Regions from separate parts of the Homo sapiens genome. Here region 1 is linked to region 2. Evidence: promoter capture Hi-C in 16 types of primary human blood cells and fetal thymus (Javierre and others, 2016). All regions are on one chromosome and are shown on one strand. The core of a region is centred on a gene start or on the middle of the fragment in contact, and the rest is flanking DNA. Distances in the headings are between cores, read along the strand shown. Region 1 has its middle 87 kb from the start of RAB27B. Region 2 holds the start of RAB27B (RAB27B, member RAS oncogene family).

The links. Contacts are between HindIII fragments. The CHiCAGO score rates a contact against its expected background, and 5 or more counts as called.
Region 1: a fragment that was not itself captured here is called in contact with the fragment with the promoter of RAB27B in region 2 in 1 of 17 cell types (megakaryocytes); the score reaches 5.5 in megakaryocytes.

The regions. Positions count from the first base shown.
Region 1 is chr18:54,738,687-54,744,195 of GRCh38, forward strand. It overlaps a transcript of RAB27B not described here. Among named protein-coding and RNA genes, the nearest start is that of RAB27B, 87 kb to the right of the region's middle. The HindIII fragment of the contact is 1,057 bases long and covers 2,063-3,119 here.
Region 2 is chr18:54,826,535-54,831,647 of GRCh38, forward strand. RAB27B (RAB27B, member RAS oncogene family) reads left to right here and starts at 1,943. Exons shown (of 6, transcript NM_004163.4): 1 at 1,943-2,166. The HindIII fragment of the contact is 8,053 bases long and covers 1-5,113 here.

The DNA of each region.
Region 1 (5,509 bases), core at 1,341-3,840, 87 kb before region 2:
CGTACCTCTACCTTAAATCCCTTTTTAGAACATAACCACATTCATCTGTTTTTTAATTTGATCTGCACCTTTTGCTAGTTGTGGAACAAAACTTACTTGAATGTTTTTCATGAAACAATTTTGTTATAATATACTTTACCTAAAATAAGCCTCATTTATTTTAATTGTACAACTCAATGAGTCTTGAGAAATGTATATCTCTGTGTAACTATGGGTGTCTTCAAGATAGAGAATATTATCACCCCCCAAATTTCCCTGATGCTTCTTTGCAGTCAACCCTAGCCTTGGGCTGCCTTTAATATGCTATTTGTCACTGCAAGTTGATTTGCCTTCTGTGGAATTACATATAAATGCATCATACAATATGTATGCTTTTGTGTATGTCTGCTTTCACTCCATGTCATGTTTTTGAGTTTTGCTGTGTGTTGTTTCATTTTAATTTATTAGTACTCAATAGTATTCCACCATATAGAAATACTACCTTTTGGCCAGGTGTGGTGGCTCATGCCTGTAATCCCAGCACTTTGGGAGGCTGAAGCGGGTGGATCACCTGAGGTCAGGAGTTTCAGACCAGCCTGGCCAACATGGTGAAACCCCATCCCTACTAAAAATACAAAAAGTTAGCCAGGCGTGGTGGTGGGTGCCTGTAATCCCATCTACTTGGGATGCTGAGGCATAAGAATTGCTTGAACCTGGTAGGCGGAGGTTACAGTGAGCTGAGATCCTGCCATTGCACTCCAGCCTGGGCAACAAGAGCGAAACTCCATCTCAAAAAAAAAAAAAAAAAGAAAGAAAGAAATACTACCTTTTTAAAATCCATTCTCCTGTTGATGTACCCTTAAATTCTTTCTTTCTTTTTTTCTTTCTTTTTTTTTTTTGCTGCTATGAATAAAGTTGCTATGACCTTTGATCTTCAAATCTTTGTGTGGCACATTTTTATTTCTCTTGGTGAATACCTAAGAGTGGAATGGCTGAGCCACATGCTAAGTGTACATTTAGCTTTGTAAGAAGCTGCCAAATTTTATTCCAAAGTGATTGTTGCATTTTACTTTCTCCAGTACAAATAGTTTCTCCACATTCCCATCAGCATTTCGTATTCTTAATATTTTTAAGTTTAACCCTTCTAGTGGGTATGTAGTGGTATCTCACTGTGATTAATTTGCATTTCTTCGAAGTCCTAATGGTATTGAGCTTCTTTATGTGAGCTTATTAGACATTCATATATTTTCTTTTGAGAAATGTCTACTCAAATCATTTGCCCATGTAGATGTGTAAGAGTTATCTATATATTCTGGATACAAATTGTTTGTAAGATATATGTATTGCAAATATGTTCTTCTCTCATTCTGCAGCTTGCCTCTTTATTTTCATAACAGCTTAATTTGATATAGTCCCACTTACCTATTATTGTCTTTTATGGTTTGTTCATGGTCTGGTAACAAGTTCATGGAGGAAGAATTCATCTCATGGCTACAATTATTAAAATTCAGTTACTTGATTGATTCTGGATAAGGCAGTAATGTTAAGGATCTTCCTATAAGAATGATTATTTCTTATAGTTTCTATTAGCTCATCCCCAGATAATGAAACAATTCTCAGACATTGTCCTCCTAACCCCTTAGATGTCTAAATAGAAAGAGTTATAGAGCCTCAGGGATATGAAGGAAATGATGAGTCATTCTTGCAATCCTTACGTTGAATAAACATTTTAGTATTCAGACCATTTTTTCCAACACAAATTTCCAGAACCTATTTTTATTAAAGAGAGCAATCTAACGTAACTCATCTGGATATTAGAACAAGAAAGGAAATGAGGACCTTCTTTCCAATGTTTTATTTATAGGATACCTGCCTGAGTTTCCACAGCTTGACAGTGGAATGTCTCCAGTCAACATGTCACTTTCTCTCAAGTAGAATCATGACCTAGGAGTGGCTAAAGTGGTCCTGTTGGCACAGTGAGAGCTTTCTAATTAGTTAGATCTAGGTATACATGCTGGATCAGCAACTTTGGCAAGTCTCTTAAAAGTTCTGAGCCACAGCTTCCTTCATTTGTAAAATGTAAAGCTTGGGATATATAAGCCAGTATATAGCAGGCTCTCACTAAGTGATAGATAGACATAGACAGATGATAGATAGATAGATAGATGATAGATCGATAGATAGATAATATAAAGAATGAAATGAGGAGATTTTACTGCTAGTGCATTTTTATTAACAGAAGAAAGGAGGCTGAGAAATTGATGAAAACATATGACAAGACTAAAACTTGGTCTTTATTTTCAATAAACTCTACCTAGGTTTTTGGTCATGATGATAATCTAATAACCTACTTTCATAAAAAGCATTTATTCCGGAAGTCATGGATACTAAATAGTGTCCCTAGCATACAAAACCTAAGAGGCAAGTGGTATCACAATAATTTTCAAAGATAAGGTAAAATACAGTTAAATGTTACTAAGACCATATCTTCCTATGAGACCCTTTAAATTTTGAATTAGTAAATCAAAACTTGAAAAATACAAAAGGACAACATTAGAACACTCACCTACATTCCTCCGCCCATCCCACCATGTCACCCACAGCCCTGTTCCTTAAAGCTAAAGAGGTTTATCACCTATTCAGTGTTTCCATTTGCCAATACAGTCAAAGATGAATGTATATTATTTCCTCCCTTTTGTCACAAAAAAGTTAGTATACTAAGTTCACTGTTGTGCATCTGGCTTTTAAGAAATATAGTGGCCATGAGAAGCTACTAAGAATCATTCCAATCTTATGTACTGTGCTGCTGAACCAAGAACTCTAAGCTCTTTTTTTCTTCTTTTTTTGAGACAGGGCCTCGCTGTGTTGCACAGGTTGGAGTGCAGTGGTACAATCTCAGCTCACTACAACCTCTGACTCTTGGGCTCAAGCCATCCTCCCACCCCAGCCTCCCAAGTGGCTGGGATTACAGGCATGCACCACCATGCCCAGCTAATTTTTTGTTTGTTTGTATTTTTTGTAGAGAGAGGGTCTCACCATGTTGCCCAAGCTGGTCTTGAACTCTGGGCTCAAGCAGTCCACCCACCTCCATCTCCCAAAGTGCTGAGATTACAGGGGTGAACCACTGTACCTGGCCTCTAAGCTTTCTTTAAGTAAAAAGTGACCTACCTCCTGGCAATGGCTTAGTTCTCCTTTTGCCTAAGCTGGCAGTAGGTAAGAAGTCAAGGCCTCTATAATATCTGAAGACATAGTCTAGAGTTAAATACTTGCAAAAACAAGCTCTGAGGATTCTGACATTCTACCTTCTGGCAAAATCAGTCTTAAGGGGTTTGTTTTGGCCTGAAGGCTTGTGCTACAAATAAAAGTATATTTCAGTGTAAAAGTTAATGCAGCTTTTCATAGAGGAGTGAATGTTTTCATATGCAAAGCTTGAAAGGGAAAGAGAATCTAAAGCAGTCTTATTTTTCTGATTAGGACAAATGACCAGGAGAAAGCCTTTAAGGCAATTGTTTGCAAAATGACTTAATTATCACCCTGGAGGAAACTGTAAGCCTCTTGTAACACTGTCCTTCAGGAAACTTACAGGAGAGACCTTTCTGGCAGTCGTAATGGTGGGTGGAATACAGTGTTGAAGTCATTATCGTACATGCGGTTTATTTGATGATTAAATTGCCTGGAAGCAGTTTCATCTTTCTGAGTTTATAAGCATCCTAGCTTGTTTTTCAAAAACCTAAAAGTACATGTACATGATGTTACTTAAATCTATCAGAACGGAAGGCAGGAGGAAGTTGGGGTCAGTCATACAAATGTTATAAAGTATAAGGTCATTTAAATCATTTGTAATTTATTTACTAAGAATACATTTGCTATGTCTGCAATAGATTGGCCTTCATTTCTGTGTTTTGCCTCTGCTAATAATCAAGTTTATTTGCATTTTCTGAGTATAAAGCAAGTAATTATGAGAACAAGTGCCCTGAAGACAGCTGAGTGGTAGGTGTAAGGCAGTCTGGCTTCCAGATTTTCTATGTTTCTAGACTGTGAGACAGAAAACAGCAAATCCCTGGAGTCTAACCACAAGGAGGATGCTGCCCACTTGCATATGAAGACCAAAAGCTTCCAGTTGCATAACACTGTGCTTTCCTCTGTGGATGTTGGCCATATCCCAGGACCTTGATAATAGGGCTCATGACTCCTAAAGTGTGCAGGAAAGCCTTGCAAATTTTGCATCTATGTCAACTCACCCTGTGAGGTCAGCTTTTGGCAGGATGACCAGACCATGTACTACTTTTGGAAGCCTGCAGAAGTTGCTGGCAATCCTCAGAAGTGTGTCTTCCAATTTGGAACAAGATTTTCAAGCCTAGATAGAAACAGAGAAGATCACTTTTCTTCCTGGTCCTGTATAACATAATCTCAAGCATTCTTGGACACCCACTCTTATTGCCTAAGCCAATGATTTTGTATCTGGTCCTTAATTCCACACTACTCTGCAGCATCTCATTCAGCTATTGTGCTATTTAGCTTTTACATACTGTAGTTTTCAACATTTTGTGTCACTGTAATTTTCAGCATTTTATGTCACTATATTAACATAACTGAATTAGAAGCTCTTTTTGTGGTGGTATTCTATTATTCATTCAGCCCATATTGATTGAGTTCCTACTATGAATCAGATCCTCTTCTAGGGGCTGATAATAGAGTTCCTGTTATCTTGGAGCTCCAGACAGTACAATGCAAATATGGAAATGCAGCTATAATATGTCAGATGTGAATAATTAATGAAGATCAAGGGCCGAGAGAGTAGGAGCTGATTTCCATTGAATCATGAGTGAGGAAAACTCAGTCCATGTGGAACTTAGGCAGAGTCCTGAGATCAGTGAGGGAATGAGCCATTCAGACAATAAATGCGGGAAAAAGCACCTAAGGCAGAGGGAATGATGACTGGTGGATGCCTGGTCCTTGCATAGCAGTGTGTTTGTCACATTCCAGGAAGAGCAAGAAGGTAAATATGGCTAGAATAAAGAGGGAGAGAGGAGAGTAATAGGAGGTGAGATCAGATACACAACAAAGAGCCAGAGTGGACAGAGCGAATCAGCTCATAGATCCTTGATAGAACTGTGGCCTTTATGCCCAGTGAGATGAGAAACCCTTGAAGAGGTGGGAAAAATAAGAGACATGCTCTGTCACGTGTTAATGGTTCACTTGAGTGCCCTTAGGAAATCGACCGTAAGGGAGGTGGGGAGAAGCACAGACCAGTTACAGAGATATCACATCACAGTCCAGACAAGAGATGTTAGTGGTGAAAACCAGTGCCTAGAGGAGTGATTCTGATGTAATTTATATCCAGCAATCATCCCTCGAGATAATTTGGGCCAAGCAATTTGCCTGAATCTGTTCTTTTTACCATTGTACTAACTTATTAAAATCAACAGTGAATAAATGTTATATGAAGAAGATAGATTGATTTCATTCATTGGAAAGTGTGTGAGCCATGGCTACTTGTATATCTCCTAGGTAGCTCATATTGGACCCA
Region 2 (5,113 bases), core at 693-3,192:
TGTGGCAAGTCACTCCAGGAGAGCTATCCCTGCAAGAGTTGGCCCTATAAAGCAGGTGACACACTTATCTAGGGAAAGGTGGCAAGGAGAGTCATCAATAAATGTGTGTGTCAGATTTTCTTATGGCAGGAACCTTTTCTAGAAGTTGCAGTGAGGTAGTACAACACAGTGACCACTGTGAGCTCGGCATTCAGGATCAATAGACCTGTCTTCCACCTTTTGAACTTCATCACTTTGGACAGATTTACTGCGACTTTCTCAACCTCAGTTACCTCATTCTGAAAATGGAGACAATAAATATAATAGACGCCTTGCCTATTTCACAGTAATGTTGTGAAAGCCAAATGAGATGAAACTCTATTGCATACAGGAAATAATAGCTATTAGGACTAATGTCAGTAGTGAACACATGAACTAGATAAAGAATATGGGTTATCATTGTATAGCACAGAGGGTGATTTTAAGTCAATGTGTTAACAGTGGAAAAGATTCAAGGCTCTTATGTTCTTTCTTTTATTTCTGTCTGGGCCCATGGACACACACTTCTTATATACTTAGATATTGCTGTTAAATGCAAAGTAGATTTATCATAAATATAGATTCCAAGCATACATACTTTGAAAATCTACAGGCTGAGCCTCAAAGACTTTTATGCAGTAGATCCAAAATAATTTTTAGGAACTGGATCTTACTTGGGGAGAATGGAATAGATTGTTACCAAAATTATAAGTATAGCCAACACATTCATAGAACTTACTGTGCCAGGCACGTTCTACACACATTACTGATATGAAGTCAATTCTTCACAATAACACTATGAAGACATTATTATTACTCTTCTTTTCAACTTTCAAGAACATTGAAGGACATAAAATAGAACTTCTTTAATAGTTTCATAATAGAATAGACAGATTTCTATGAGACCAAAATGTTTTCTCTAATATTCCATTTTTCCACTAGTTTGCTATTGTTTGTTTTGTGTTTTGGTTTGGGCTATTCCTTTGCTCCCTTCTACAAGAAATTCTCTGGGAGCTGATAACAGCAGTGCCTCCCAGATTGTCTCTAGGGCATCGAATAAGAAACAAGTTAAGTAATTAAAATTCAAGCAGTCATTGGCATCTCGTTGTTTACTAACATGAATGCAAGACACAGGTTTGGAACTTTTAAATTTTGTTCACAGAGGAGTAAATCGGTTGTTATTATAATGTACCTAACCTTGTATTCTTACCTTTACTACCAGTCTGTAAATTAGGGATGTCTGAATGTGTCTAAAATGGAATCCCAAGATGGGCAGCCAGGATCTTTGCTTTGTGGACGAATCTAATGTGTTTAGAACACGGCATAGCACATAGTAGGTGCTTAACAAATACTGGTTCAATGCCTCCGTGTGCTCATTATCTTACTTAGTGGTAACCTATTGATCTCTGAAGTGACTTTAGGAAGTGAATTAGGGCTTTGGGAAGTGAATTTGGATGTTGCATACTGATTAATGCATTCATACGAACACATCCTAACTTTTAAAATATTAATTTCTTTCCAACGCCCTCTTTTATTTCCCGAGGCCATCCTCTGCTCCCCACTCGCAATCCCTCGCCTTCACTCCTCATAGTTAATGAGACACCCCCTCGGAGGAGAGAACGCAATGTCAGGGCCCCAGTTCTCACAGCGCCCTGGGCTCTTTGAATGAGAGACATCAAAGAAAACACAGAACAAAAATGAATAAAAATGAGCTCGCTGGTAAGGCTAGAAGCCCCACAGTGTGGAGACTTCATCCCCGAGAGGAGTGTGTTTCTCACTGCAGCAGTTGAGTCACCAGCAAGACTTGCCTGAGGTGAGCTCCGCACATCCGCGTTGGGACTTGCAGACACGCCTTCTTCTCACACAAACCTTACCCAGCCCCGCCGCCGCGGCGGACTCCGAGGGTGGTGCCACCAGCCCTGCCACTCGCAGTCCTGACGGGCAGGGGCTGCGGACCGCCCGGCCTTGGACCCATCCGGAGCCACAGGTTGGAGGAGATAAGTAGCTGTCCCCGTGCTCATCGCCCTGTGGAGCAGATCCTGTCTCCTTGCTGACGGTGGAGCCCGGGAGTTCCAGGGCTTGGGAAGGGGAAGGAAACCTCTCTGAAATCTGACACCTGCTCTCCCGGCAAGGAAACTTCGCAGGCTGGTGAGTTGGGAAGGCGGGCTGCTGCTGCTGGAACGCGTTCCCACCCACCCGGGTGCTGCAGCGCCGGCCTGCGCCGTGGGAAGTGAGGCCTCTGTGTGTGTGTGTGTGCATGTGTGAGTGCGTGTGCACCTTCGATCGCGGTTTCCAGCAGAAATCCTTGCAAAGAAGACAGTAGTGCTGTGTGCTGCACGGATGGCATGGGCCAACTCGACCTGGCTCTCCTTGAGTGTTTGCTTATCAAACAGCTGGTTACCACCAAAAAAAGCAAAAAGAAAAACAAAAAGCCTAGGCACAGCAATGCCAATTTCCTTTCATTTGCATCTCAAAAAACAATCAAAATAATGAATAAGAAAAAGCATGGATGATGATGTGCTCAGAGTTTCATTCCAGGAGGAGCGACTTAGTGAGGCAAGCCAGGAGAGCAATAAGACATTTATATGCACTTCCTTAGATGAAATAGCCACAGAGACCTTAAGAGTACTTTCTGTTTTCCAATTTTTTGCTCTGTTACTTTCGAATTCTGATCTAAGTGTTGCACCAACTAGGGTATATGTGTGCATGTGTGTTCACCCAACTGATCACAATAAATTAGCTTTCAAGACTTTCCCACCCAATGCAACATTAATTAAGCCTCTGAAAACTACTGAAGTAGGTGAACTGTAAGCAGAGACTGCATTCCTAGGAAAAAGCTGTGTTTGGTTAGAGCCTTCACACCTGTATCATGTTTTGTGAGTTTTTTATGTCAAGATGTAAAGCTAAGGGTATGTAATTCCAGTTGTTTTAAACTGCACATCATTAAATTAAGCCCAAAGTAATAACATAAATTTCAAGGTTATTAACAACAAAATTATTGTTTAATATAATACAGCTCTGAATTTTGATTTTGTTCTGTTTATAAGAAAAATGTCTACAGTTCTCAATATTTAGTTATATTCACACATATTCATTCATATATAGAATATACAGGGTTTTATGGTTATAAATTTTGAAAAGTTGAGGGAAAGGATAGACTTAAGCATTAATATAAACTCAGATATTTAAGTTTAATGAATTTTCAAGCTGCTGTAAAGTCCATATTGCAGTGATGAAGAGAGAGACATACCTGTCATGTGCCATTGCCCCTCAAATAGTTATTTTTCATAGTTTCCTAGCATAATCCTCTACCCAGATGGGGTCAGCCATCCTTGAAGGCAAGAGGTGATTCCTACCAATGACCAAAAAGGGGTAATCTTGACAGATAGTTTAATATTAATGGAGCTTTTCTGTTTCAGAATTGACTATGGCCTCTCATACAGTGTTACTGTCATTGCTTTCGAAAGGAAAACAAAACATAGCAGATAAAACTGGATGAGCCTGTTCTCATAGTTGCCAAGAAGGGATAAAGGGAATCTGTTGAATGTAAGCAAACCACAGTTCCCCTTTCTCATAGGTCATTTCTGGAACAGGCATGTTTGACCCAATAGGGAAGGTAACCCTAATATAATTGATCTTCTTGGTAGAAGATCAGTTGGTATGCCAGTTTACACTACAACTGTATGTTGGTTTCAGAATTGCTGTTCATTTATTTCACTGTTTTTCTGGAAAAATGGAAGTTATCCAAATGTCCAGGTAGTTCAGAATAGAAACCTGCTCTTTTCCCACCCTCACTCCTGCAAATTTTTGGTTAGGTTTTTGGGCTCTCAGATCAGTACGGCATGAAATATAGAACAATTACTCATATAAAACTCATCTCACAATCCAGTTTCTTCAGTTGATTCATCAAGGCAGGTTGACCAATAGTTCAGCTCTTAAGCAAGTAATTGTAATGTTGAGATGCAAGGAAATGATTTCAATAAAAACAGACAGGACAAATCAGGTGTTTCCCATGAAGAATATGTCACTTTCTAAAGATGGCTGCCAAATGGGAATGATTTTTTTTTTAAATTCATTATTAGGTATATATGGGCTTAAGTATATACTATAGAAGTAGCAAGCAGCAACATCACTATGCATAATAACATACCTATTGTAAACCCCAAATATGGAGTTGATAGTATTACTCAATTTCTTTCACACCCTTTGCAATCATTATTCATGTTCTCCAAATATTAACCTCCCATTGGCACTCCTTAAATAAGACAAACTTGTCTAGATTGCCAATAAGGAGAGTAACACTCTGTTTATCAAATGGCCAAAAAAATCTTAAATAAATTTTGTCTTTTTAACTAAACAACTGCTCAATATATTGAGATAATTAAGTTGCTTGTTCATTTGTTCAACAAATATTTGGTAAGAGTGTTATGCACTGTTCAGGGCTCTGTGTGGACAGAAGTGGACCAAAATTCCTGACCTTGTAGAGCTTATCTTTTACCAGGGAGACAAAGACCAACCTAGATAAGCAGGGTGAGTCTATGGCACAGTAGCAAGAAGTGCTCAGCAGAGAGTATAAAGCCGAGGAGGCATGCAGAAAGTGTCAGTGGCCGGTGTCAGGGAGGACTGAAATTCTAGATCAGATGCCCAGGAAAAGCCTCACTGAGATGATATTTTAATATCAATCAGAGGCAAGTAATGGAATGATCCATGTAGATATGTGGAGGAAGAGCATTCTAGATTGAAGCATTCTGGCATCTTTCAGGAACAGCAAAGAAGCCCATGAACCTGGCACAGAGGGAGTGAGATGGGGGTAGCAAGAAATGGGGGAGAGGAGATAATGGGGACAGGTCTTGGAGGACTTTGAAGGTCCTAATGAACATGTTGGCCTTTGTTTTTTATTCCAAGTAAAATGACAAAACACTATGATTTAGATATAGCCCGTTGAACATTTTTCAATAAATATTTACTGAGCATACTATGAACTTTAATATTCGTCTAAGCCCTGTGGATAACAGATGTTAGTGAGATATACGAGGCCTCTGCTGTCATGGACATTATATCTGGGGTTTGGAAAGAGACGGATAAGTAAATAAAC